Linked DNA regions of Homo sapiens: regions 1, 2, 3, 5, 6 and 7 are each linked to region 4. Evidence: promoter capture Hi-C in 16 types of primary human blood cells and fetal thymus (Javierre and others, 2016). All regions are on one chromosome and are shown on one strand. Each heading gives the region's core, a stretch centred on a gene start or on the middle of the fragment in contact. The rest is flanking DNA. Distances are from core to core; before and after follow the strand shown.

The links. The method cuts DNA at HindIII sites, captures the fragments that hold promoters and counts their contacts. A CHiCAGO score of 5 or more calls a contact.
Region 1: a contact is called between a fragment that was not itself captured here and the fragment with the promoter of RPS21 in region 4, in 2 of 17 cell types (neutrophils and megakaryocytes). The highest score is 10.1, in neutrophils.
Region 2: a contact is called between a fragment that was not itself captured here and the fragment with the promoter of RPS21 in region 4, in 2 of 17 cell types (erythroblasts and M0 macrophages). The highest score is 5.8, in erythroblasts.
Region 3: a contact is called between a fragment that was not itself captured here and the fragment with the promoter of RPS21 in region 4, in 12 of 17 cell types (total B cells, megakaryocytes, naive B cells and 9 more). The highest score is 13.2, in total B cells.
Region 5: a contact is called between a fragment that was not itself captured here and the fragment with the promoter of RPS21 in region 4, in 1 of 17 cell types (neutrophils). The highest score is 8.6, in neutrophils.
Region 6: a contact is called between a fragment that was not itself captured here and the fragment with the promoter of RPS21 in region 4, in 5 of 17 cell types (neutrophils, total CD4 T cells, M0 macrophages and 2 more). The highest score is 9.7, in neutrophils.
Region 7: a fragment that was not itself captured here is called in contact with the fragment with the promoter of RPS21 in region 4 in 1 of 17 cell types (M0 macrophages); the score reaches 5.5 in M0 macrophages.

The regions. Positions count from the first base shown.
Region 1 is chr20:62,036,341-62,040,317 of GRCh38, forward strand. All of the region lies in intron 1 of TAF4 (TATA-box binding protein associated factor 4), which reads right to left. It also overlaps the pseudogene RPL17P48. Among named protein-coding and RNA genes, the nearest start is that of MIR3195, 26 kb to the right of the region's middle. The HindIII fragment of the contact is 5,228 bases long and covers 1-3,977 here.
Region 2 is chr20:62,833,570-62,837,354 of GRCh38, forward strand. It overlaps COL9A3 (collagen type IX alpha 3 chain), which reads left to right. Exons shown (of 32, transcript NM_001853.4): 27 at 2,352-2,384; 28 at 2,618-2,764; 29 at 2,909-2,963; 30 at 3,514-3,696. Among named protein-coding and RNA genes, the nearest start is that of COL9A3, 18 kb to the left of the region's middle. RefSeq lists enhancers at 1-696, 2,220-3,419. The HindIII fragment of the contact is 341 bases long and covers 2,160-2,500 here.
Region 3 is chr20:62,811,383-62,815,278 of GRCh38, forward strand. OGFR (opioid growth factor receptor) reads left to right here. Exons shown (of 7, transcript NM_007346.4): 6 at 80-228; 7 at 848-2,618. The coding sequence ends at 2,267. Among named protein-coding and RNA genes, the nearest start is that of COL9A3, 3.7 kb to the right of the region's middle. RefSeq lists an enhancer at 3,848-3,896. The HindIII fragment of the contact is 7,148 bases long and covers 1-3,896 here.
Region 4 is chr20:62,384,423-62,388,352 of GRCh38, forward strand. It overlaps RPS21 (ribosomal protein S21), which reads left to right and starts at 2,681. Exons shown (of 6, transcript NM_001024.4): 1 at 2,681-2,714; 2 at 2,899-2,966; 3 at 3,189-3,252; 4 at 3,421-3,492; 5 at 3,887-3,930. The coding sequence starts at 2,917. RPS21-DT (RPS21 divergent transcript) reads right to left here and starts at 2,567. Exons shown (of 1, transcript NR_186459.1): 1 at 1,881-2,567. RefSeq lists enhancers at 1,819-1,868, 2,147-2,838, 2,839-3,530 and silencers at 2,219-2,338, 2,769-2,958. The HindIII fragment of the contact is 6,470 bases long and covers 1-3,930 here.
Region 5 is chr20:62,870,291-62,874,059 of GRCh38, forward strand. All of the region lies in intron 1 of LOC105372717 (a long non-coding RNA gene), which reads left to right. It also overlaps the pseudogene ARF4P2. Among named protein-coding and RNA genes, the nearest start is that of TCFL5, 10 kb to the left of the region's middle. The HindIII fragment of the contact is 6,367 bases long and covers 1-3,769 here.
Region 6 is chr20:62,852,758-62,856,574 of GRCh38, forward strand. TCFL5 (transcription factor like 5) reads right to left here. Exons shown (of 6, transcript NM_006602.4): 5 at 1,259-1,400. Among named protein-coding and RNA genes, the nearest start is that of TCFL5, 7.2 kb to the right of the region's middle. The HindIII fragment of the contact is 5,585 bases long and covers 1-3,817 here.
Region 7 is chr20:62,754,787-62,758,421 of GRCh38, forward strand. NTSR1 (neurotensin receptor 1) reads left to right here. Exons shown (of 4, transcript NM_002531.3): 2 at 1-100; 3 at 3,480-3,570. Among named protein-coding and RNA genes, the nearest start is that of LINC00659, 20 kb to the right of the region's middle. The HindIII fragment of the contact is 5,247 bases long and covers 1-3,635 here.

The DNA.
Region 1 (3,977 bases), core at 700-3,199, 350 kb before region 4:
AGTGAAAATTAAGACAACACTATCAGAGCATTTTACACCCCCAGATTCGAGGAATTGAAAAGTCTGACAACACCCAGTGCTATCAAGGATATAAAATAACAGAAACTGCTGGGAGGCAAGTGAACTGTTGCAACTAACATTACTCATGCAGTACTGCAAGACAAACTGCAAGGAAATGACAGGCCAGTATCCCTCCTGAACCTACACACCAAACTGTAGCAAACTGCATGCAACTGTATATAAAAAGGATAATACATGTGACCAACAGGGGTTATGCTAGGAACTCGCCAGGGTTTAACACTCAAAATTAAATCAGTGTAATTCACCATGTTAACAGACTAAAAAAGAAAAACCATACAAGCATCCCAATACAGGAAGAAAAGCATTTTAACAAAAATAAACATCCACTCACGACAAAAATTCTCACCAAACTAGGAAAAGAAGGTGCATAGACTGAATGCCATCACAATTCATATGCTGAAACCCAATCCCCAAGGTGATGGTAGCAGAAGCGGGGGGACTTTGGGGGCCCAGCCCTCATTAACCGGATTAGCGCCCTTATGAAAGAGCCTGTCCCACAGCTGCCTTGCCCCTTCCTTCCACACTCTGAGGACACACAAGAAGCTGCATGGGAGCAGGCAGCAGGCCCTCACCAGCATGGCAATCTTGCACTTCCCAGGACTGTGAGAAATGAATTTCCGGTGTCTAGAAGCCTCCCAGTCTATGGTATTTTGTTACAGCAGCCAGAATGGCCTATGACAGAAGGGGATTCCTCAACCTAACACAGGGCCTCTATGAAAAACCTGCAGCTGACATCATGTGCGTCATGAGAGAAGACAGACTGCCTCCCCCAAGATCAGAAACAAGGCAAAATGTCCCTTCTCAACGCTTCTGTTTGTCATATTACACTGGAGGTTGTGGCCAGTGCAATGAGACAAGAACAAGAAATAAAAGGTGCACAGACCAGAAAAAAAGACATGAACCACTCTTTACTGCAGATCACGCCTATCTTTGAAGAAAATCCTAAGAAATCCACAGGATATAAAGTCAATTTTTTTTATTTTAATTGCATTTATTGTATGCTGAGTTTATTCCCATGCCACAAGTTTTTGTTTCTTCAGTTTCTTCTGGTACAGTTTTCCTCTGTGCAACTTCCTCACCTGGCTTGGGAACAAGTGTCTTTACCGTGAGGATCGTCTCAATGTGACGGGGCGCCCTGTATGGATGAACCCGACCACCAGCCCTGGAAGTCCCACAGCGCATCCTGGGTGCTCAAACACCAGAGAGCCTACATCTACACCCTCACATTCAGTGTGACTCTCCACATTTTTAATTGTGTGCAGCAAAAATTCAGCGCTCTTTTCGGGTCACCAACCCTGTGTCCAGCCCCACTGTTTGGCCTAGGTACACCTGCCAGCTCCACCCCTGCCAAGTCGGAATGGCATACACTGTTTCTATAAAGGGACGTCTTTCAGACACTTGGTGACTTCTCACGTATGCATACCCTTGATGGCCTGGGCAGTTTCACGAGCGTTCTTAAAGTGATCAAGAAGACCTGAACCTCTGGATTTGCACGATTTTGTGGGGATTTCTGGGTCAAGTGACTAATGAACCATTTTCACAGATCATCTCAGGCCGCTTGGGGAAGAGCTATAAAGTCACTATTTTTAAAAGCAATTTTTTTGTTGTTTTTTTTTTGGTTTTTTGAGACGGAGTCTCACTCTGTCGCCCAGGCTGGAGTGCAGTGGCGCGATCTCGGCTCACAGCAAGCTCCGCCTCCCAGGTTCATGCCATTCTCCTGCCTCAGCCTCCAGGTGGCTGGGACTACAGGAGCCCACCACTACGCCCGGCTAATTTTTTGTATTTTTACTAGAGACAGGGTTTCACAGTGTTAGCCAGGATGGTGTCGATCTCCTGACCTCGTGATCCACCAGCTTCGGCCTCCCAAAGTGCTGGGACTACAGGCGTGTGCCACCATGCCCAGCTAATTTTTTGTATTTTTAGTAGAGACAGGGTTTCACAGTGTTAGCCAGGATGGTCTCAATCTCCTGACCTCATGATCCGCCCGCCTCAGCCTCCCAAAGTGCTAGGATTACAGGTATGAGCCACTGAGCCACCGAGCCACTGACCCACCGCGCCCGGCCAAAAGCAATTGTTTTTCTAAATACTGGCAACAATTGGAAACAAAATTTTTTAAAGGACCACGTACATGGCATAAAATATGAATACTTAAGAATAAATTTAACAAAGTATGTTCAGGATACAAACACTGAGAACTTGAAACAACCCTGAGAAAAATCCTGAAAGGCCTAAATCAATGAAGAGGTACAACACGTTCGTGAATCAGAACACTCGATATTGCTAAGATATCAATGATCATAAAACCGATCTATAGACTCAATACAATCCCAAGCAAGATATCAAGGTATTGGCCAGGCCCAGTGGCTCACACCTGTAATCCCAGCACTTTGAGAGGCTGAGGCAGGCGGATCACCTGAGGTCAGGAATTCAAGACCAGCCTGGCCAACACGGCAAAACCCTATCTCTACTAAAAATACAAAAATTAGCCGGGTGTGGTGGCACGTGCCTGTAATCCCAGCTACTCGGGAGGCTGAGGCAGGAGACTCACTTGAACCCGGGAGTCGGAGCTTGCAGTGAGCCAAGATCGTGCCACTGCACTCCAGGAAAAGATGTGAAAGAGTGAAAAATTCCGTCTCAAAACAAACAAAAAGCTATCAAGGTATCAAGAGGCTTTTTTTGTAGAAGTTGACGAACTGATTCTGAAACACATGAATGCAAACGACCAGAACAGCCCTCAACGTTTTCGAAAAAGCAGCACTGGAGGACTCCTGCCACCCATCAACACTCCCTCTAAATGGGCTGGAAAGTGCTGAGCTGCAGAAGGGAAGACAAGGACATGAGTGGACAGAACACATCCCAGAAGTGACGTCCTCACACGTGGCCGACTGAGTTTCAATAAAGGCAGCAGCATCGTTCAATAGAGAAAGGAAGGTCTCCTCAACACATAAGGCTGGCATGATTGGTAACCACAGAAAAAATGAGTCTCAACCCCCTACCTTACAACTCTCCCAAAATTAACTTGAATTGGGTTGAGTAAGAGCTAAAGCCATAAGCATTCTAGAAAACTCCTGTACCTTGGGTTAGGCAAAAATTTATTTAAGAAGGCACAAGATGAATTCTTAAAATGACTCACTGGATTTATTTAAGAAGGCACAGGACGAATTCTTAAAATGATACACTGGATTTATTTAAGAAGGCACAAAATGAATTCTTAAAATGATACATTGGGCTTCCTTAAAATTGAAAACTTGCACTTTAAAACGCATGCAGCTAAAAGAAAAGGCAAACACAGACCAAGAAAATAGTTACAGAACAATTCTATCTGATAAATTACTTACATCTAGAAAATACATTTTAAACTCTTACTAAATCAATAATGACAAAACTAACAACCCAATTTAAAACACACAGACAAAAGATTTGAAAAGACACCTCCCGAAAGAAGATAGGCAAATGAGCAAATAAGCTGGTGGAAAGACGCTCAGCATTAGTCACTAGGGAAATGCAAATCAAAGCCACAACATAATGGCACGGCACCCATCGAAAAGGCTAAAATTCAAGACTGACCATACCAGCTTTCCGCAAGGATGTCAACCTTTATGCGCTGCTGGTGAGACACAATGCAAAACAGGACAGCCACTTTGGAGTTCCTTCAGAAATTAATATTCATTTGCCATATTCAGCAATCCCACCCCTAGTTATCTACCCAAGACAAAGAAAAACTTATGTTCATATAAAGATTTATAGGAAACATTCATAGAAGCATTGCTCATAATAATCAAAAGCTAGAAACAACCCAAATACCCATCAACTGGTAACCAGATCACCTGCGGTCCAGCCGCACACCAGGATGCTGCTCAGCAACGCAAAGGAACCAGCTACTGGCACGCACACGA
Region 2 (3,785 bases), core at 1,080-3,579, 450 kb after region 4:
ATTTTTTGTATTTTTAGTAGAGACGGGGTTTCACCGTGTTAGCCAGGATGGTCTCCATCTCCTGACCTCGTGATCATCCCGCCTTGGTCTCTCAAAGTGCTGGGATTACAGGCATGAGCCACCGCGCCCGGCCGGGGGTTTTTTTTGAGACGAAGTTTTGCTCTGTTGCCCAGGCTGGAGCACAGTGGCGCGATCTCGGTTCACTGCAGCCTCTGCCTCCTGGGTTCAAGCGATTTTCCTGCCTCAGCCTCCTGAGTAGCCAGGATTATAGGCCCTCCCACAGTCGACTAATTTTTTGTGTTTTGGGGGGTTTTGTTTGTTTTTTTTTGAGATGGAGTCTCGCTCTTTCGCCCAGGCTGGAGTGCAGTGACGCCATCTCGGCTCACTGCAACCTTCCCAGTTCAAGCGATTCTCCTGCCTCAGCTTCCTGAATAGCTGGGATTACAGGCGCCTGCCACCACGCCCAGCTAATGTTTGTATTTTTAGTAGAGACAAGGTTTCACCATGCTGGCCAGGCTGGTCTCGAATTCCCGACCTCAGGCAATCTGCCCGCCTCGGCCTCCCAAAGTGCTGGGATTACAGGTACGAGCCACCGCCCCTGGCCTAATTGTTGTATTTTTAGTAGAGACGGGGTTTCACCATGTCGGCCAGGCTGGTCTCAAACTCCTGACCTCAGGTGATCCACCTGCCTCAGCCTCCCAAAGTGCTGGGATTACAGGCGTGAGCCGCCGTGTCAGGCCCACAGCTGGTTTTTAACTGAAGAAAACTCCACTTCCACAGGCCTAAAACTCAGGTGAAGCATAAAATTACGTTCTTGTTTGAGTCCCTTGATAGGCACATTTCTCCTTCTGGAGGTAACAAATGGAGCAGTCGTGAGTCCGAGGGAAGGACGGCCTTTCTGGCTTTCCCGAGGGGGGTTTTCATCTATGATTAAGTCTTTCCTTTGCGTCTGGGTGAAATAGAAACAGCCTAGCCCCAGGGACCCCAGTCTCTGGCAGACCCCCACAGCCCAGTGTAAACTTTTTATGCCTGGGGACAAAAGACCTCAGTTGTATGTGTTTCATTTAGTGAATTCTTTTTTTATTTTTTTTTGAGACGGAGTCTTGCTCTGTCCCCAGGCTGGAGTGCGGTGGTGTGATCTCAGCTCACTGCAATCTCTGCCTCCTGCGTTCAAGCGATTCTCCTGCCTCAGCCTCCCGAGTAGCTGGGACTACAGGTGCCCACCATCACACCCGGCTAATTTTTGTATTTAGTAGAGATGGGGTTTCACCATGTTGGCCGGGCTGGTCTCAAACTCCTGACCTTGTGATCCGCTCGCCTTGGCCTCCCAAAGTGCTGGGATTACAGGCGTGAGCCACCTCGCCCAGCCCATTTAGTGAATTCTTAGACAACACTGACAAATGGACCCTGGAAATCCCAGAAGCTGCCCTACGTGGCCACTGTTGCTGGTGGGGTGAGGGGCAGAGCCCCTTGCAGGCGGAAAACCTAAGGCTTTGCTCTCAGCTACTCGCACGGTCGGGCTGTGTGAGGTGACCCCCTACCCTCCTGGCCTCCGCGGAGCATGCTGTCTGGGCCCGGTCGGTCCCTCTGCTGTGCGGTTAGACTGTGTCAGTCTGTATTCTGCAGCTGTAACAGAACACCGCAGCTTGGGTAGTTTACAAGGGAAAGAGATCCATGTGGCTCCTAGTTCTGGAGGCTGGGAAGCCCAAGACCGAGGGGTGCATCCATCGAGGGCCTCCCCACTGCGTCATTCCATGGTGGAAGGCAGAAGGGCCAAGAGGAGGTGCCAGAGAGAGAAAGGGGCCCAACCCATCCTTTTCATGAGGAACCCACTGCGGAGACAACGGTGTTAGTTTACTCCGGAGAGCCGAGCTCTCAAACCTAATCACCTCTTAATAGCATTGCAGTGCAGTGGCCGTTCAATTGCAGCATGTGTTTTGGAGGAGACATTAACCCGGCTGACTGTGTGTTGACGCACCTGGGGCCAGTCATTCCTGAGGACCCAGCTGGAGGGGGTTCCAGGGTTTTAGGGCAGAGAGGTTCAGCCCAGCATTAGGCGTGTTAGTAAGAAAAAGGAATGGAAGCAAAGTAAGCGTGTGTAAGAGACAGCACCGTGCAGCTAACAAAGTCACTCTTCCCAGGAAAGTAAGTTTTTAAAAAGCTTCAATCAATCAGTGCAATCACAGAAATATAAAAAATGTATATAGAAGAACGGAAGGAACCACTGTCAATATTTGGATGTAGTCTAATAGCAGGTGTGTGGATGATTTGATTTATTTTATCCTCAACTGGCTACTTCCCACCCACCCAACAATACACTTAGTTCAAACACACAACTTTTCTCTTCACAGGGTCCCAGCGGCCTGGTCGGACCCAAAGGAGAGGTGAGTGCCCGGCGACTGTTCCGATGACACCATCCATGGGCGCCTGCTGGCTTCCTGCCCACCTCTGGGCAACCAGGCAGCCCTGCAGGGCACTGCCCAGATCCGAGATGTAAAAAAGCTTGCTCTGGTCAAGGCTGGGCAAGACGGCTCCGTGCCGGCTGGGAAAGAGCACGTCGGGGTGGCTCTGGGCTCCTGGGCTCGCCCCTGACCCACCTTCCTCTGTTCCTCTGCAGTCTGGCAGTCGAGGGGAGCTGGGCCCCAAAGGCACCCAGGGTCCCAACGGCACCAGCGGTGTTCAGGGTGTCCCCGGGCCCCCCGGTCCTCTGGGCCTGCAGGGCGTCCCGGGTGTTCCTGGCATCACGGGGAAGCCGGGAGTTCCGGTACGTCGCTTTTCCGGCTTTTCCAGCTTTCACAGGGTTGAGATCGTGTTTTTTCCGGAAGGAAGTTACTTTGCGGGGTGACGGTGGGAATGCCTCACCGAGGCTGCCGCCCCCATGCTGACGAATGTGTGGGGTGAATTCCAGGGGAAGGAGGCCAGCGAGCAGCGCATCAGGGAGCTGTGTGGGGGGATGATCAGCGGTAAGTCAGCCACGTGCACCGGCTGCAGCGGGGCCCATCCCCGCCTGGGGGTCCCGTGCCTGGGGCTACACAGAAAGCCTTCGTGCCACTGCTTTCCAGCCAAAGTGAGCCCCTAGCACTCACCCCGCCTGTTAGCCCTTGGGGGTCCACGTCCGCCTTGGCGTCTGCCTGTCCTCTGCGCTAGAGGATGGCCCACGCTCCCGCCCCGGATTCAACCAGATTCCCAGCACGCAGCAGACGCCCTAAAGCCTGCTGAATGCAATGGGTACAAGAACAGCGGAGTGTGCCCCTGTGGCTGGCAGGGCAGGTCCCTAAACACCCCCAAGGGCACTTCCTTCACCTTCCCACTCAGGCTTCTCAGGCTCCAAGGGGTTGGGGGTCCTTTCTAGCTCCAGCATTCATCACCCCAAAGCAGTTAAACCATTTTCCATCAATCAGAAGGAAAACTTGCTTCTGGAAGACAGCACCGTGTAGATATTTTATGCTTTACGTAACAATACTTCTGATGATCCTCTCTCGAGTAAACGCCTGCACCCTTGTTTTCCCAAAGAACAAATTGCACAGTTAGCCGCGCACCTAAGGAAGCCTTTGGCACCCGGGTCCATTGGTCGGCCCGGTCCAGCTGGCCCCCCTGGGCCCCCAGGACCCCCAGGCTCCATTGGTCACCCTGGCGCTCGAGGACCCCCTGGATACCGCGGTCCCACTGGGGAGCTGGGAGACCCCGGGCCCAGAGGTGAGTGTTTGACCCCATGACACGGTCACCCTGCTGTAAAAATCCCTGAGACTGACTTGTTAGTAGGCGCTGCTTCTGGTGCCTGCCAT
Region 3 (3,896 bases), core at 1-2,500, 430 kb after region 4:
GGGACCCACGGCCACCCCCACACTCAGGAACCGGGGCTTCAGGGATGGTGCCTGAGCTCTCCAAGGGGGTCTTTTCCAGGTGTTTAAAAGCTCCCAGGAGATCCAGGAGCGGCTTGTCCGGGCCTACGAGCTCATGCTGGGCTTCTACGGGATCCGGCTGGAGGACCGAGGCACGGGCACGGTGGGCCGAGCACAGAACTACCAGAAGCGCTTCCAGAACCTGAACTGGTGAGGCCCGGCTGCTCCCGCCCACCCCCACCCCGGCGCAGAACAGGGCCACGTCAGGTTTCGGGCAGGTCACAGAGCGCTGCTGCAGACGGAGAACTCCAGGGCTGTTTGGGCAATGGACCAAGGCCCTGAGTCCCCTCCTTGCTGCCTGTAGAGCCGGGCGGTCCCTCCCCGATAGGGTTGGTGAGAAGGTAAAGAATGCTCTTCCTGCACCCAGGAGGTGGCAGTCCACATAGAGAAGCAAGCAGGGGTGATGGAGAACCTGCAGGCGGTACAGCCAGTTCTCACAGGGTGTTCGAGGCGCCTGTACCCTGCAGGGGCCCCTTGTGGCTCTCATCCAGCCAGCTCCTCCCCACCAGGGGGACTCGGGGTACAGCCACCCTCTAGGTGATGCGTCAGCATCCCCCTAACCCCCGTGTGTCTAGGGCCCACAGGCCATTTTCACAGGGATGGCATGAGTCCTCCCCTGGGCCCAGAGAGGTAAATGGAGAGAGAGACTGAATCGTGGGCCAGGGTGGGGAGACCTCGTGGAGCCGGGTGGGAGGGCAGGCCAGGGCGGGGTGCGGCCCAGCAGGAGGGGCCCCAGCCATTGACCTCTCCTGACCCGGATCTCTCGCAGGCGCAGCCACAACAACCTCCGCATCACACGCATCCTCAAGTCGCTGGGTGAGCTGGGCCTCGAGCACTTCCAGGCGCCGCTGGTCCGCTTCTTCCTGGAGGAGACGCTGGTGCGGCGGGAGCTGCCGGGGGTGCGGCAGAGTGCCCTGGACTACTTCATGTTCGCCGTGCGCTGCCGACACCAGCGCCGCCAGCTGGTGCACTTCGCCTGGGAGCACTTCCGGCCCCGCTGCAAGTTCGTCTGGGGGCCCCAAGACAAGCTGCGGAGGTTCAAGCCCAGCTCTCTGCCCCATCCGCTCGAGGGCTCCAGGAAGGTGGAGGAGGAAGGAAGCCCCGGGGACCCCGACCACGAGGCCAGCACCCAGGGTCGGACCTGTGGGCCAGAGCATAGCAAGGGTGGGGGCAGGGTGGACGAGGGGCCCCAGCCACGGAGCGTGGAGCCCCAGGATGCGGGACCCCTGGAGAGGAGCCAGGGGGATGAGGCAGGGGGCCACGGGGAAGATAGGCCGGAGCCCTTAAGCCCCAAAGAGAGCAAGAAGAGGAAGCTGGAGCTGAGCCGGCGGGAGCAGCCGCCCACAGAGCCAGGCCCTCAGAGTGCCTCAGAGGTGGAGAAGATCGCTCTGAATTTGGAGGGGTGTGCCCTCAGCCAGGGCAGCCTCAGGACGGGGACCCAGGAAGTGGGCGGTCAGGACCCTGGGGAGGCAGTGCAGCCCTGCCGCCAACCCCTGGGAGCCAGGGTGGCCGACAAGGTGAGGAAGCGGAGGAAGGTGGATGAGGGTGCTGGGGACAGTGCTGCGGTGGCCAGTGGTGGTGCCCAGACCTTGGCCCTTGCCGGGTCCCCTGCCCCATCGGGGCACCCCAAGGCTGGACACAGTGAGAACGGGGTTGAGGAGGACACAGAAGGTCGAACGGGGCCCAAAGAAGGTACCCCTGGGAGCCCATCGGAGACCCCAGGCCCCAGCCCAGCAGGACCTGCAGGGGACGAGCCAGCCGAGAGCCCATCGGAGACCCCAGGCCCCCGCCCAGCAGGACCTGCAGGGGACGAGCCAGCCGAGAGCCCATCGGAGACCCCAGGCCCCCGCCCGGCAGGACCTGCAGGGGACGAGCCAGCCGAGAGCCCATCGGAGACCCCAGGCCCCAGCCCGGCAGGACCTACAAGGGATGAGCCAGCCGAGAGCCCATCGGAGACCCCAGGCCCCCGCCCGGCAGGACCTGCAGGGGACGAGCCAGCCGAGAGCCCATCGGAGACCCCAGGCCCCCGCCCGGCAGGACCTGCAGGGGACGAGCCAGCCGAGAGCCCATCGGAGACCCCAGGCCCCAGCCCGGCAGGACCTACAAGGGATGAGCCAGCCAAGGCGGGGGAGGCAGCAGAGTTGCAGGACGCAGAGGTGGAGTCTTCTGCCAAGTCTGGGAAGCCTTAAGGAAAGGAGTGCCCGTCGGCGTCTTGGTCCTCCTGTCCCTGCTGCAGGGGCTGGGGCCTCCGGAGCTGCTGCGGGCTCCCCTCAGGCTCTGCTTCGTGACCCGTGACCCATGACCCACAGTGCTGGCCTCCTGTGGGGCCACTATAGCAGCCACCAGAAGCCGCGAGGCCCTCAGGGAAGCCCAAGGCCTGCAGAAGCCTCCTGGCCTGGCTGTGTCTTCCCCACCCAGCTCTCCCCTGCGCCCCTGTCTTTGTAAATTGACCCTTCTGGAGTGGGGGGCGGCGGGCAGGGCTGCTTTTCTTAGTCTGATACCAAGCAAGGCCTTTTCTGAATAAATTCATTTGACTTTGAGTCTTTGGTATGGACCGGGGTCCTGTTGGGTGGCTGGTAGGGCTGGTGTCACAGCTGATGTCCCTCCAGGCTCCAGTGGCCTGGCCCGGCGACCGCCTCACATTGCTCCACCAGGTGCCTGTGGGGGCAGAGTGGTGGCCCAGCCCTCCCCACACACCCACTTGGCCACACAGTCCCCAGGCATGAACAGGTGGGCAGGCTGCAGCCTCCCAGAGCCTCTGAAGGTGGAACCGAGGTCCCTCAGCAGGCTTTTGCCACCTGTTCAAGATGAGTCTGGGGCTTCCCTTGGGGTTGGCCGGGGCAGTGCTTGTGCATGGTGGGGTCTGGACCAGGCCTTTCTGCCTGCTGTGATCTGGGATGCGCTGCTGTGCCTCGGGCAGGCTTGGCAGTACTCTCTGGCGGGCCCCTTGGCTCCCTCAGGTCTGGTGGAGCCAGGTGTGCCCCCAGGGCAGTCCCTCCCTGCAGTCTGCCCTTGTCACCCTGGGCCAGGACCCCCCGCTTCCCGGTTCCCCTACATTTCTACATCAGCAGGGTAAGGGGCTTTTTGTGGGGCCTCAGAGGAGGGGCCGGACACTTGTCTTTGCTCAGTGAAGGACAGGGCAGACCTGGGGCACCCCTGGGTGGGAGGGTTAAAGCTGTAGACCCTGGTACCACTTCAGGTAAAATGCCCAGCTCCCATCTGGTGGCACAGGATACACGAGCCGGAAGTCACTGGGAGGAGACACCCGAGGTTCAATAATCCCCCAGAGCTGCGTGGGGAAGCTGTGGGACCCCTGGTGCCTCAAGTGTGGCTCAGGGGATTCCTGCCATGGAGGGAAACTGAGGCAGTGAGCTGGACATAGGGCTAGAAGTGCAGTCACTGGGGCAGCGCCCGGCAGATCCAGCGTCCCCAGTCCAGGCCGTTGTGGGGCTGGAGTCGGTGAAAATCAGCGCCTGAAGTGAGGAGCCTGTTGGAGCAGCCCTGGGGGCCGATGCCTGGCGGTGGGCACCTGGGGACAGCAGGCAGTGCTGGCCAGCCAACCCGGGCTTCAGGGAGAGTGATGACCCACAACAGGCGGGCAGCAGGAGGCTCTGCCCCACTCAAAAGTGAGCCGGGGGAGGCTGAGCTCTGACAGTGCCCACCCTCTGCCTAGGATCTGCCTGGAGCTGGGGGTGGTTTTTTGAGGGGCTTGAAGGTGGTTCGGGGGGGACACCAAGCAGGTGTCCCAGGCATGAGGTGGCTCCCCTGGCCTGAGGTGAAGGCCAGCTGTGTTTTGTCTGATTTGGGTCAGATAGCAG
Region 4 (3,930 bases), core at 1,431-3,930:
GGAGTTCTGTGGCATGATCATGGCTCATTGTAGCCTCCACCTCCTGGCTCAACTGATCCTCCCACCTCGGCCTCCTGAGCATCTGAGACTACAGACACACACCACTACATCCGGCCAATTTTTAAATTTTTTTGTAGAGGGGTTTCACCATGTTGCCCAGGCTGGCTGGCCTCAGACTCCTGAGGTCAAGCAATTGCCTGCCTCAGCCTCCCACAGTGCTAGGGTTACAGGCATGAGCCATCACTCCTGGCCTCTAATCTGCTTTTTTTGATGTGTCTTTGTCTGATTTGGGTATCAGGATAATACCGGCCTCATAAAATGATTGGAAGCATTCCCTCCTCCTCTATTTTTTGGAATAGTTTCAGTAGGATTGGTATTAGTTCTTTAAAAAATGTTTGGTAGGCCAGGTGTAGTGGCTCACGCCTGTAATCCCAGCACTTTGGGAGGCCAAGGCGGGCAGATCACGAGGTCAGGAGTTAAAGACCAGCCTGGCCAACATGGTGAAACCCCATCTCTACTAAAAATACAAAAATTAGCCAGGCGTGGTAGCAGACCCCTGTAATCCCAGCTACTCTGGAGGCTGAGGCAGGAGAATCGCTTGAACCTGGGAGGTGGAGGTTGCAGTGAGCCAAGACCGCACCACTGCACTCCAGCCTGGGAGACAGAGCAAGACTCCGTCTCAAACAAACAAACAAACAAACAAACAAACAAACAAAAACTAAGAATAGAGCTGCCATAAATAAAGCAATCCCACTGCTGGGCATATACCCAAAAGAAAGGAAATCAGTATATGAAAGAGATACCTGGCCGGGTGTGGTGGCTCATGCCTGTAGTCCCAGCTACTGAGGAGGCTGAGGCAGGAGAATCACTTGAACTCTGGGGGCAGAAGTTGCAGTGAGCCGAGATCGCACCACTGCACTCCAGCCTGGGTGACAGAGCGAGACTTTGTCTCAAAAAAAAAAGAAAGAAAGGAAGAGATACATGTGCTACGATGTTTATCACAGCACTATTATTTGTGGGAGCTAAAAATTAAAACAATTGAATTTGTGGAGACAGACAGTAGAAAGATGGTTACCAGAGGCTGGGAAGGGTAGAACAGTGGGAGGAGGGGGGCAAATGGGGATGGTTAATGGGTATAAAAAGACAGAAAGAATAAGACCTAGTGTTTGATAGCACAACAGGGTGTCTACAGTCAATAATGATTTAATTGCACATTTTAAAATGACTAAAAGAGTATAGTATTGGATTATTTGTAACGCAAAGGATAAATGCTTGAGGTGATGGATGCTCCATATACCCCATGTGATTACTACGCACTGCATGCCGGTATGAAAATATCTCATGTGCCCCATAAATGTACACACCCACTATGTACCCAAAAAATTAAACATAAAAAAACTTTTTTTTTTTGAGACGCAGTCTTGCTCTGTCGCCCAGGCTGGAGTGCAGTGGCGGGATCTCAGCTCACTACAAGCTCCGCCTCCCGGGTTCACGCCATTCTCCTGCCTCAGCCTTCCGAGTAGCTGGGACTACAGGCGCCTGCCACCACGCCCAGCTAATTTTTTGTATTTTTAGTAGAGATGGGGTTTCACCATGTTGGCCAGACGGGTCTCGAACTCCTGACCTCAGGTGATCCACCCACCTCCGCCCAAAGCGCTGGGATTACAGGCCTGAGCCACCGCACCTGGCCACTGAGTCTTAAGTTTTCTGAGGCTAGTTCTACATCCTAGGATCATGTCCCCCGCCCAGAGAAGACCCCAACATAGGCCGCGCTGCTCCCTCCGTCTACCGGTTTGGAGCTTCTCCTGGCAACAGGGTTCAGGCTACTAACAAGGCCTTCCTCAAGACCCCACCCATAACCAACGACCATACTTCGTGGGTCCATCTTTGTAACATCTTTACTTCCTTGGAGCAAATTCCCAGGAATGGGTTTTCGGGGTCCAAGGGTATGCACCTCTAGCACTACGACAAACGCGGCCAACACGCTTCAGGGAAACGGTGCCCCAGTTTGCATTCTGCTTCCCCTGCCCTGCCCTGGGGGTCTGACTGGTGAAACATGGGATGGCAGAGTGGTCGGGTGTTTCAGATTCCACGGTGGGCCGGGGTCTTTTCCTACCCTCGGGAGCCGTCTGAATTTCTCCTCTGCCGAGTTCCTGCGGGTGTCCTTCGCCCACCGGCCCGGGGGAGTGAGTAGCAGGCACCAGGTGAGCAGGCCTCCGCTCGCAGCGGCTACGTGCACGGGCAGGAGCACCGCCCCACGCCCCAGGTGGCCGCAGGGTGAGGGGACCGGAGGGCGGGAGGCGCACAATGGGGGGCACGCCCGTATCTCTAGCCCGGCCGGCAGCGGGCAGCGAGGCTCAGTCCTCGCCCCTTCTCCCAGCTGCTATTCGGGGCTCCCGAGGCGCTCAGAGGGGTCGACTGCGTCCGTGGGGCACAACCCAGGGGCCAGGCTAAGACGCCACACACGGCAACGACCCTCAACGACAACGACCCCCACGACGCCCCGCGCCCCAGGGCCAGCAGGCTGGGGTCCGAGAACCTCCTTGCCGGAAGCGGAAGTGCGTCACGGCGACGGCCGGCAAGCACGCACCGCGCAGACTCGCTGTGGTGGCGTGACCCGGAAGCGCTCGCCGAGGCCCCTCCTTGCCCGCCGATATCTCTGCCGGGTGACTAGCTGCTTCCTTTCTCTCTCGCGCGCGGTGTGGTGGCAGCAGGTGTGGCGCGCGGCGCGGGCTTCGGGCTCAGGGCTGGGGCTGGGGCGGGAGTGGGGGCTTGGACGCGGGGGACGGGGTGCGGGGTGCTGGGTGCGGCTGGGGCCGTGACCCTAGGGGCCGGTTTGCGCCGGGAGCCGGGGCACGGTTCCGGCCGTACTCACGGCGCCGCGCGGTGACTCCCCAGGCGCAGCCCAGCCTCGAAATGCAGAACGACGCCGGCGAGTTCGTGGACCTGTACGTGCCGCGGAAATGGTAAGCGCCCCCCACATGCCTCTCTTCCGTCCTTACCTAACCACCACGTCCCCTCGCCTGCCCTTGTTCCCCCACACCCCTCCCGTCCTTACCTCGTCACGTCCCTAACTTGTCCTGCCCCCGACGTTACTCTTTTCCATTCATATACCCCCAACCTCCCTCGTCCCCTCTTTCATTCTTACCGCCCAAGTCCCCTCTGCTCACTGCGCCCTTTCTCCACAGCTCCGCTAGCAATCGCATCATCGGTGCCAAGGACCACGCATCCATCCAGATGAACGTGGCCGAGGTGAGCTGGGAGCCCGGGAGGCGGGAAGGTTGTGATATATGTGCGGGAAAGGCAGGCTGTCCCATTGTGGAGGAGCCCCTGGGGTGAAGGTACAGGCAGAGGCTGGCTTTGAGGATTGGTGTTTCCCAAACCTGGGGGAGTGGTTTGTGACCCTTCTTCTCTTTCTAGGTTGACAAGGTCACAGGCAGGTTTAATGGCCAGTTTAAAACTTATGCTATCTGCGGGGCCATTCGTAGGATGGTGAGTGTTTCCCTGGGCTTTGCTCATCACTTCGGGACATCGTGGACTTTACCGTGCGCATTGGAGTGTGTGATGGTGCCTGAGTAGATCTGCTGGCAGAGTAGTTTGAGCCAGCTGGACTGGGCTGGCCGCCTGCCGCTTCTTGAGGGTGGAAGAGGGGTGCTCTGAGAAGACACTCAGGCAGCAGACTCTGCCTCTCACTAGGAGGTGCCCCCCCGACCCCGCTCCACCATAGTCAGGCTGCAGGCTGCCCCGGGAGAGGTGGCTCCCCTTCTGCGCCTGTCTCCATTCGCTCAGCGGGGGAGAGACGTGGGCTGGTGGCACAGCTGACCTTCTGCCATCTCAGGCAGCCGGAGTGGAAATATTCTTAGTGTGCTTTTTTTTTTTTCTTAAGGGTGAGTCAGATGATTCCATTCTCCGATTGGCCAAGGCCGATGG
Region 5 (3,769 bases), core at 191-2,690, 480 kb after region 4:
AGCTCCCCCAGGCCTCTTGTAAAAGGGCACTAATCCCATTCATGATGGCTCTCCCGTCATGACCTAGTCACCTCCTAAAGGCCCCTCTTCTTATTTTTTATTTATTTATTTTTTTGAGATGGAGTCTCGATTTATTGCCCAGGCTGGGGTGCAATGGCATGATCTCGGTTCACTGCAACGTCTGCCTCCCGGGTTCAAGCAATTCTTCTGCCTCAGCCTCCTGAGTAGCTGGGATTACAGGCACGTGCCACCACGCCTGGCTAATAGTTTTGTATTTTCAGTAGAGACAGGGTTTCACCATGTTGGTCAGGCTGGTCTTGAACTCCTGACCTCAGGTGACCCGCCCGCCTCGGCCTCCCAAAGTGCTGGGATTACAGGCGTGAGCCACCGCACCCGGCCATTGTTTTAAAGACCCCTCTTCTTAATGCCACCACAGTGCAGATTAGGTTTCAGTATGAATCTTGGAGGGATACAAACTCAGACCGCAGCAAGCAGGGTTTTTTTTCTTTCTTTCTCTCTCAAATTCTTGGAAGGTTGAGCAGGGCAGGGTCACCAGGCCTGCCGGCAACTGCTCCCCTTCCTCTCATCCTCCTGTAGCTTCTTGGACTCCTGGGCCAATTGATTTTTCTGTTCCGTGATGTGGAGTGATCAAAGCTGGTTCTGGGTTTTCTGGAGCTGGATCTTTGATTGCCTTTGATTTAAAAGCATTGGTAACCGTTTCTCACGGGAAAGAGGCGCTGATAATTCATGCAAATGAGCATCAATGGGCAAAATTCAACCAAGTGCCTCTGGAACCAAGGCTGCCATTGAACATTCTAGTAAAAATGGGGTGGAGGCTTTTGCCCAAGTGCTCTGGATAATCTGGGAAAAGAAAATGGTGAGTCAGTGCTTTATTTTATTTATTTATTTATTTATTTATTTGTTTGTTTTTGAGGCGGAGTCTTGCTCTGTCACCCAGGCTGGAGTGCAGTGGTGCGATCTCGGCTCACTGCCACCTCTGCCTCCTGGGTTCAAACGATTCTCCTACCTCAGCCACCCAAGCAGCTGGGATTACAGGCACATGCCACGATGCCTGGCTATTTTTTGTATTTTTCTGGTAGAGACAGGGTTTCACCATGTTGGCCAGGCTGGTCTCGAGCTCCTGACCTCAAGTGATCTGCCTGCCTCGGCCTCCCAAAGTGCTGGGATTACAGGTGTGAATCACCGTGCCCAGCCGAATTTTTTTTTTCTTTTTTTTTCTTTTTAGATGGAGTCTCTGTCACCCAGGCTGGAGTACGGTGGCACGATGTTGGTTCACTGCAACGTCCGCCTCCTGGGTTCAAGCGATTCTTCTGCCTCAGCCTCCCGAGTAGCTGGGATTACAGGCACGTGCCACCATGCCCAGCTAATTTTTTTAGTAGAGACGGGGTTTGGGGTTTCACCATGTGAGCCAGGATGGTCTCGATCTCCTGACCTCATGATCCCCCCGCCTCGGCCTCCCAAAATGCTGGGATTACAGGCATGAGCCACCGTGCACGGCCTTTTTTTTTTTTTTTTTTTAAATAGAGGCAAGGTTCACCATGTTGCCCAGCCTTGTCTCCAACAAGCTCAAGGGATTCACCTCCTCACAGACAGTGCTCCCACAGGCGTGAGCCACCACGCCCCACCTTATTTATTTTTATGTATCTTAACTTCCAAGGTGGATTTATTTAAAGGTTTTACAATAACTATGTCCAGGCTTTAGGCTCATGGGAAGTAAATGAGGACACCTTTTTCCCAAGAAGAATTTCTTTAAAACCAAGCACATTGCTAAATAACAACATTATATTTGGCAAACAATAATTGGCAACAAAATAAGTTTATTATTCTGCCCAAGCCAGTCCCAGATGCTGTTTCTTAACCAAGATACAAACAAATTTTGCTGTAGCAAGTCTAGACCAATTTTATCAAACATGTCTTTGGTTAGATGTCTAGTTTCATTTAACGTTTTGAAAACTCATTTGACAGCCAGTCAAGTCCCTCATCTACACCAGCTCCGTGTTGCACAAGTGGCTTGAACATACCATGTCCTGTTAGGAAGAGACTGAAGAGCTGGCTGGCTCATCTGTCGTCACACTGATGGCCCGAGCGCTGGGCAAACCCTGTTTGTTTGCAGAGAGCAGTGGCGCTGCGTCTCCACACTCACCGGCCAGAAGCCTTTTCTGCAGCGCGTCCGCCACTTCCCGAATTCTTTCATGATCGTTGCTATCTACCAGCAAAAGAAAACCCTGGGTATTCTGGAAGTAATGCTTCCAGAGAAGCCTAATTACATCTTGACCATGAACATCCCACACCATGAAACAAGTGTTCTCTTTTTGAGTCAGAGTCTCGCTCTGTCATCCAGGCTGGAGTGCAATGGCGCAATCTCAGCTCACTACAACTTCCACCTCCCGGGTTCAAGCAATTCTCCTGCCTCGGCCTCCCGAGTAGCTGGGATTACAGGAGCCCACCACTATGCCTGGCTAATTTTTGTATATTTAGTAGAGACAGGGTTCCACCATATTGGCCAGGCTGGTCTTGAACTCCTGACCTTGTGATCTGCCTGCCTCGGCCTCCCAAAGTGCTGGGATTATAGGCATGAGCTACCGTGCCTGGCCCAAAACAAGTGTTCTTATATTCTACTCTTTCCATGTTAAAACCAATGGCAGGAACTGTGGTGAGTACCTCCCCTAACTTCAGTTTATACACAATGTATAGGCAGCATCCAATCGAACCGTCCAAATGTGCATCTGCTTCTTGCTGAAGAGGCGGGAGAAGAGAGAGGAGATGGCGGGGACCATGGGTTCGTGGCACTTGTGATGGGCAGAAGCAGAGGGGCTTGGGGGGCCCTGTGCTTTCTTCTTTCATGCTTCCAGGCAAATTGAACAAGGGGGAAGAGAAAGAACTGAGGAAGAAAGAGGGAGGCAGGGACATCTCACTGGCCCATGTGCTGGTGAAGCTGTAGACAGGAATTAGCAGGACGAGGACCTGCTGGTGATGGACACAGCAGCTCCAGCTCTCGATGCTTTAAATGCCTGGCTTGGAGTCTGAAAAAGGAACCTGAAAGCCTCTATGACTGCCTTAAAGTAAGTCCTTATCTCCTGTAGCCATGGGGCTGAGATTTCTGCAAAGCAAACCTGAAGCCTAGTCTCCTGGATGATTTAATTACAGCCTAAACTGCAGTTTCGACTTTGCAGTGCCTCTTTTGTTAAAGTTAGGGAAGTTGGGAAAGAATGGGAACCTGACGTTGCAATGGGGGCATGTGGGCGGCAAGCCACCCAGGTGCCGAGGCAAGAGACCGAGGGCACGAGCTGTTCCAGTGTAATAAAATATATAAAACAACAAGAGTTATACCAGATACAGATCATAGACATGATTATATATGAATATCTTTCATCATTAGTTTGTAGCAATTACTCTTTATAATGCTTGCTCTATAATCATAATCTAGGAAAAACCAGGCCATACAGAGACAGGAGCTGAGGGGACATGGTGAGAAGTGACCAGAAGACAAGAGTGTGAACCTTCTGTTACGCCCGGACAGGGCCACCAGAGGGCTCCTTGGTCTAGCGGTGACGCCAGCGTCTGGGAAGACGCCCGTTGCCAGACGGACCGTGGTCTAGCGGTAGCCTCAGTGTCACGGAAAAACACCCGCTACTTAGCAGACGGGGAAAGGGAGTCTCCCTTTCCCCGGGGGAGTTTAGAGAAGACTCTACTCCTCCACCTCTTGCGGAGGGCCTGACATCAGTCAGGCCCGCCCGCAGTTATCCGG
Region 6 (3,817 bases), core at 291-2,790, 470 kb after region 4:
AGTATATTCACCCATTCCACAGAAGCACGGTCACCCGGTCCGCAGAAGTATATTCACCGAGTCCACAAAGGTATAGTCAACCAGTCCACAAAAGTATGTTCACCCAGTCCATGGAAGTATAGTCACCCAGTCTGCAGAAGTACATTCACCCAGTCAGCAGAAGTATATTCACCCAGTCCGCAGAAGTATAGTCACCTAGTCCGCAGAAGCATGGTCACCCGGTCGGCTGAAGTACATTCACCCAGTCCGCAGAAGTATAGTCACCCGGTCCACAGAAGCATAGTCACCCGGTCCACAGAAGTACAGTCACCCGGTCCGCAGAAGCACAGTCACCGGTCCACAGAAGCATAGTCACCCGGTCCACAGAAGTACAGTCACCCGGTCCACAGTATAGTCACCCAGTCCACAAAAGTATAGTCACCCAGTCCACAGAAGTATAGTCACCCAGTCCACAGAAGTATATGCACCCAGTCCACAGAAGTATATGCACCCAGTCCACAGAAGTATATTTCTTATTAACCTGCTGGGCATATTTGAAGTCCAGATCAGACTATTTGACACTTATCTGCATTTTTGTTTCTCTTTCTTTTTTGGGGTGGGTGGGGGTGGGGCAGGGTCTTGCCCTGTTGCCCAGGCTGGAGTGCAGTGGTATGATCTCAGCTCACTGCAGCCTCGACCTCCCTGGCTCAATTGATCCTCCCTCCCAGCCCCCGCCCCGAGCAGCTGGGACTACAGGCATACGCCACCACACCAGGTTAATTTTTGTATTTTTTAGTAGAGATGGGGTCTTGCCATGTTGCCCAGGCTGGTCTCAAACTCCTGGGCTCAAGAGATCCTCCCACTTCAGCCTCCCAAAGTGCTGGGATTACAGACGTGAACCACTGTGGCTGGCCGGTTTTTGTTTTTCTATTCTTGCTTTTATCCCTTTCACAAGTTTTTCTGAGGGCAAATATCATGTCCTACACACCCGTCAGCCCCAGTGCAATATACCGTACACAGCAGGTGCCCAATTTGCTATCTGACAATTGCCTCTTCACAGTTATTTACACACTGAGTGTAACACATGTAGGCTGTGACTATTACTTTAATAAATGACAAGTTATATCATTAAAGAGCAGAGCTTTGCTCATACTGGACTTAGTATTTGATGTTAGATTCCAGGAAACAAAGGATAGTTTGAGTTATCCTTAGGAAAAAGGAGGGACATTGTTAAGTAAAATTTGTAAAATTCTGAAAATCTACCTGGCCTACCACTAACCTTTTTAAGAGAATCTCCATGTCTTTCCTGGATGTATTTCAGGAATGCTGTGGTCCACTGCAGAGTTGTGGCCTTGTCAGTCTCGGCATTGCAGAACGGCACTAAGAGATTCAACTCATCACAGCAAATGCGGATTCTGCGCCTATAGTCAAAACCCAAAGTCATCACCGAGAGAGACCGGAGCAAAACAAACATGTAAAAGGAAGCGTCTCCTGTAGTACTTGAGGGAACCAGAGCTCGTGCATCCTGGCCACTGAGTGCCACGGAAGCGCCTGTCACCACAGGAAGCCCCACGGCTTTGCCACGGCCTTGTCTACAGAGGCAGCCACTGCCTTCCAGAGGCCAGAGCATCCTCGGGTGCCCTTGGCGGCCCCATGACCCACAAGCTCCCTGGAGCTTTCCCTCTTTACTTCTCACGGGCCAGGTTCAAGTCTCTAGATTAGGGATGGCTCCAAAGCCCCTGAAACTGGAAGCAACATTTTGTGTCTGACACCTTCTTCCATTTGGACCACTGAGGGGTCCAAATTGGGCAGATAACTCTGTCATTCAAGACTGATATTACTTGCCCTTCACGGGCTAAATACCCTACCAGGAACTCGTGCACAGCTTTCTCCAAGGGGCCCTGATTCAGAAAGGATCACGGCCCAACACTCTGTTAATATTCTGAAACTTGGTCTTTGTAGAGATAAACAATTGGAGTCTTGTTATTAGACTATTTTTTAAACTTTTACATATTACATTCAGTAACATGCAAAGTCCTAAACAAGCAGATACTGAGCAACTTATTCAATATGGCCCTTGTTACTCACCTTCACACCCGTCTATTTAGAACTTTAATTAGAGACTTTGCCAGTAAAACAGCAGCTGGCATTTACTAGGTGCTTTTGGACTTCTAGACATTGAGCGAAACACTCTTTACACATCAGCTCACTGAACTCTAACCACAAGTCTACGCAGTAGAGCTAGAAGTCCAACTTTCAAACTGTCAACGTACGGTGTAAGGCTTTCCACATAGCAGGTACTCAATAAATGTCTATTAAATAAATGTCGGAGCAAAATGCCCTTCATAATTCACAGTAGGGTGAGGAAGGCCCTCAGTTAGTCCATGTGTATAAAAGTATCATAAAAAGATATTAGCTAGCTTTTTAATTTTCTTTCTTTGGGGGATGGGTCTCACTTTGTGGCCCAGGCTGGAGTGCAGTGGCATGATCACAGCTGACTACAGCGCTGACCTCCCAGGCTCAAGTGATCCTCCCACACCTCAGCCTCCCAAGTAGCTGGGGCGACAGGTGTGCAACACCACCACTACTAGTATTGTTGGTTTTTCTTTAGAGACGGGGACTTGCTATGTTGCCCAGGCTGGTTTCAAACTCCTGGGCTCAAGCAATCCTCCCACCTCGGCCCACAGTCATGAGCCACTGCACCCTGCCCCAGCAAGTTTGAATAGATCCCTTTAAAAGAAATTGCCATGCCAGGCGCAGTGGCTCAAGCCTGTAATCCCAGTACTTTGGGAGGCCGAGGCACGTGGATCACCTGAGGTGAGGAGTTCGAGACCAGCCTGACCAACATGGAGAAACCCCTCCTGTACTAAAAATACAAAATTAGCTGGGCGTGGTGACGCATGCCTGTAATCCCAGCTACTCAGGAGGCTGAGGCAGGAGAATCGCTTGAACCTGGGAGGCGAAGGTTGCGTTGAACCGAGATCGTGCCATTGCACTCCAGCCTGGGCAACAAGAGTAAATCTCCATCTCACCAAATAAAAAAATAAATAAATAAATAAATTGCCTTAGCTCAACATTCAACCTTGGAGCTTCAAACCTGAGTATTTGTCTCACTCACTGTTATTTATTTCCTGAACTTAAAGCAGAAACTGGTACACAGTACCAGTACTCGATACATTATGTAGTTAATTAATTATAGATTAGGGAAATATTCTATGAAAACCCAATTATAGGCCGGGTGTGGTGGCTCATGCCTGTAATCCCAGCACTTTAGGAGGCCGAGGCAGGCGGATCACAAGGTCAGGAGTTCGAGACCAACCTGGCCAATATGGTGAAACCTCATCTCTACTAAAAGGTACAAGAATTAGCTGGGCGTAGTGGCGGGTACCTGTAATCCCAGCTACTGGGGAGGCTGAGGCAGAAGACTCGCTTGAACCTGGGAGGCGGAGGTTGCAGTGAGCCGAGATCATGCCACTGCACTATTCCAGCCTGGGTGACAAAGCAAGACTCCGTCTCAAAAAAAAAAAAAAAAAAGAAAAAGAAAAGAAAACCCAATTATAATAGAAAAAAATTAACCACTCTTAATTCTACAAAGAAGGATACCACAAATAAAATCTACAGACAAAACCACTTAAATAACAATTTTAACCTCTTCCTTCCCAGCAATCTTAAAAGAACCAGGCAATAGCCAGGAGCGGTGGCTCACACCTGTAATCCCAGCACTTTGGGAGGCCGAGGCGGGCAGATCACGAGGTCAGGAGATCAAGACCATCCTGGCTAACATGCTGAAACCCCGTCTCTACTAAAAAATACAAAAAAATTAGCCAGGTGTGGTGGC
Region 7 (3,635 bases), core at 128-2,627, 370 kb after region 4:
CAGGGCCAAGTGTGCACGGTCGGGGGCGAGCACAGCACATTCAGCATGGCCATCGAGCCTGGCAGGGTCCAGGCCCTGCGGCACGGCGTGCGCGTCCTACGTACGTAACCTCTGGGCCCTCCAGGGGCGGGAGGCAGGCCAGGGCTAGCAAAGGCAGCGAGCGCTGAACCACCCCAAGCCTGGGCAAGGTTTAAAGACATAGGGATGGAGCTGTCAGGCCAAGACCCAAGGGTGCCAGCTCCCCCGAGGGGTGAGTGCCATTCTGCACTCCATCCCTCCCTCCATCCTTCCATCTATCCTTCCCTCCCTCCATCCATCCATCCTTCCCTCCCTCCCTCCATCCATCCTTCCTTCCCTCCATCCATCCATCCCTTCCTCCTTCTATCCCTCCACCCCTCCCTCCTCCCTTCATCCCTCCCTCCATCCATCCATCCTTCTCTCCCTCCTTCCCTCCATTCACTCCTCTACCTCTCCCTCCATCCATCCCTCTCTCCCTCCTTCCCTCCATTCATTCCTCTACCTCTCCCTCCCTTCCTTCCTCCCTCCCTCCATCCATCCATCCCTCTCTCCCTTCCTCCCTTCATCCCTCCATCCACCCTCCCTCCCTCCATCCATCATTCCATCCATCATCCCTCCATCCATCCCTCCATCCATCCATCCATCCTCCCTCCATCCCTCCCTCCCTCCATCCATCCTCCCTCCCTCCATCCCTCCCTCCATCCATCCTCCCTCCGTCCATCACTCCCTCCCTCCATGCATTCTCCCTCCCTCCGTCCATCCCTCCCTCCATCCATCCTCCCTCCCTCCATCATCCCTCCCTCCCTCCATCCCTCATTCCATCCCTCCCTCCCTCCCTCCATCCCTGCCTTCATCCATCCTCCCTCCCTCCATCCATCCTCCCTCCCTCCATCATCCCTCTCTCCCTCCATCCCTCATTCCATCCCTCCCTCCCTCCCTCCCTCCAGCCATCCTCCCTCCCTCCAGCCATCATCTCTCCCTCCCTCCCTCCATCCCTCCCTTCAGCCATCCTCCCTCCCTCCATCCATCCCTCCCTCCCTCCATCCATCCTCCCTCCCTCCACCCATCATCCCTCCCTCCCTCCATCCCTCATTCCATCCATCCATCCCTCCTTCCATCCCTCCTTCCCTCCCTTGTTCCATTCCTCCCTCCCTCCATCTATCCATCTCTCTGTCCATCTGTCCACTTGCTCACGTGCTCACTTATTCATTTGCTCAGCAGTTGGCTGAGTGCCCACCCTGGGTCTCGCCTATTCTTGCTCACAGGCATGGAGGCAGCAGAGGCAGGGGCATCCCTGCACTCTGGGGGAACAGGGGCTCCACCAAGGACACAAACACAGGCACCAGGCACCTTCAGCCAGTGATGAGCATGAAGAAAAAAATACCACCACCACCACCCCTGACTACATCTGGCAGCTGGGAGGGGCTCTCAGAGCAGGTGGCATCCTGCAAGTCCCAAGGACCAGGAGCCCATCTGGGCAACAGAGCTGCAGGCGAGGGGATGGCTGGAGCAAAGGCCCTGTGGTGGGAGGTGCTTGGCAAGAAGGCGGGGCAGGGGCAGGGCAGACGCTGCCAACAACACAGGGCTTGGAGAGTGTGATGGGAACTGGAGAGAATGAAGCCCTTTCATGCCTGAGACCCAGGTCTTCAGTTTGGTTTGCCTGAAGCATTTGGCTTGAGCTCCTCCCTGGTGCTGGCCCATTTTCAGGGCTTGTTTGAGGGTGTGGCCAGTCACAGGAGAGGCCCATAGCCAAGCACATTACCCTAAGAGAGCCTGGCTCTGGGCTCAGCCTTCCCTGCTCATGGGAACCAGCCAGGGCTTTGGACACGGAGCTCTCAGGGCTGGCGAAGCCCACAGCAGGGCAACGCCCATCCTATCGGAACCCTGAGGACCAGCCCCAGCTCAGGACGGCTGGCTTGCCAACATCCAAGGTGTGTCCTGGTCCCAGTGTGTGCCTGTTGTTTTAATAGTAGCCATCCTAATAGATTTGAGGTGGCATCTCGTTGTGGTTTTGATTTGCATTTCTCCAGTGATTTAAGATTAATGATTAATAACATCTTTCATGTGCTTGTTGACCATTTGTATCTTCTTTGGAGAAATGTCTGAGTCCTTTGCCCATTTGTGAATTGGATTGTTTGTTTTCATGTTGAGTTTTAGGAGTTATACTCTCAAGGTTAACTCATTATCAGATGTGATTTGCAAATATTTTCTCCTTTTTTGTGAGCTGACTTCCACTCTCCTGATGGCATCCTTTGATACACAGAAATTCAGTGTTTATGTTGTTCAATTTATCTACTTTTTTCTTTTGTGGCCTGTGCTTTTGGTGTCATACCCAAGAAATCATTGCCAAAATCAATGTTGTAAAGTAATTATGTTTTCTCCTAGGAGTTTTATGGTTTTAGTTCTTATGTTCAGGTCTTTAATCCACTTCAAGTCCATTTTTGTATATGGTGTGAGGGGAGGATCCACCTTCATACAAGTGGATGTCCCGTTTTCCTAACACCCTTTGTTGAATAGACTGTCCTTTCCCCACTGAATGGTCTTGGTGAAGATCACTTGACCATAAAGGTAAGGGTTCGTTTCTGAGATTTCTAGTCTATTCCCTTGGTCTACGTGTCTATCTTTATGCCAGCACCACACTGTAACTTTGTAGTAAGTTTTGAAATCAAGAAGTGTAAGACCTCCAACTTTATTTTCTTACAAGATTGTTTTGGCTGTCCGGGATCCTTTGAGATTTCATATGAATTTTAGCACAGATTTTTCTATTTCTGCCAAAAGCATTCTTGAAATTTGATACGGATTGCATTGAATCTGTAGAGTGCTTTGGGTAGTACTGACACCTTAACAATATTAAATCTTCCAATCCATGAACATGGGATGTCTCCCTGCATCTCCCTCAGACCACGTGTCTCCTTCTCTGAGGCCATATCTCTGTGTCTCTAAGCCCATGTCTCTGAGCCAGTGTCTACCTCCCTCAGCCCATGTCTCTCCCTCTCTGAGCCTGTGTCCTGTCTCTGAGCCTGTGTCCTGTCTCTGAGCTTATGCTCCCTCCCCAAGCCCACGTCTCTCCCTCTCTGAGCTTGTGTCTGGTCTCTGAGCCCATGTCTCCCCCACTGAGCCCACGCCTCTGTGCCTCAGGTGCAGTGGGTCTCTGAGCCCACGCCTCTGTGCCTCAGGTGCAGTGGGTCTCTGAGCCCACGTCTCTGTGCCTCAGGTGCAGTGGGTCTCTGAGCCCATGTCCTGTCTCTGAGCCCACGTCTCTGTGCCTCAGGTGCAGTGGGTCTCTGAGCCCATGTCTCTGTGCCTCAGGTGCAGTGGGTCTCTGAGCCCACGTCTCTGTGCCTCAGGTGCAGTGGGTCTCTGAGCCCACATCTGTGTGCCTCAGGTGCAGTGGGTCTCTGAGCCCACGCCTCTGTGCCTCAGGTGCAGTGGGTCTCTGAGCCCACGTCTCTGTGCCTCAGGTGCAGTGGTCATCGCCTTTGTGGTCTGCTGGCTGCCCTACCACGTGCGGCGCCTCATGTTCTGCTACATCTCGGATGAGCAGTGGACTCCGTGAGTACCGGGAACCAGGAAGTTGGGTGCTGGACAAGTAAGTGCTCCCAAAACAGATGGTGGGT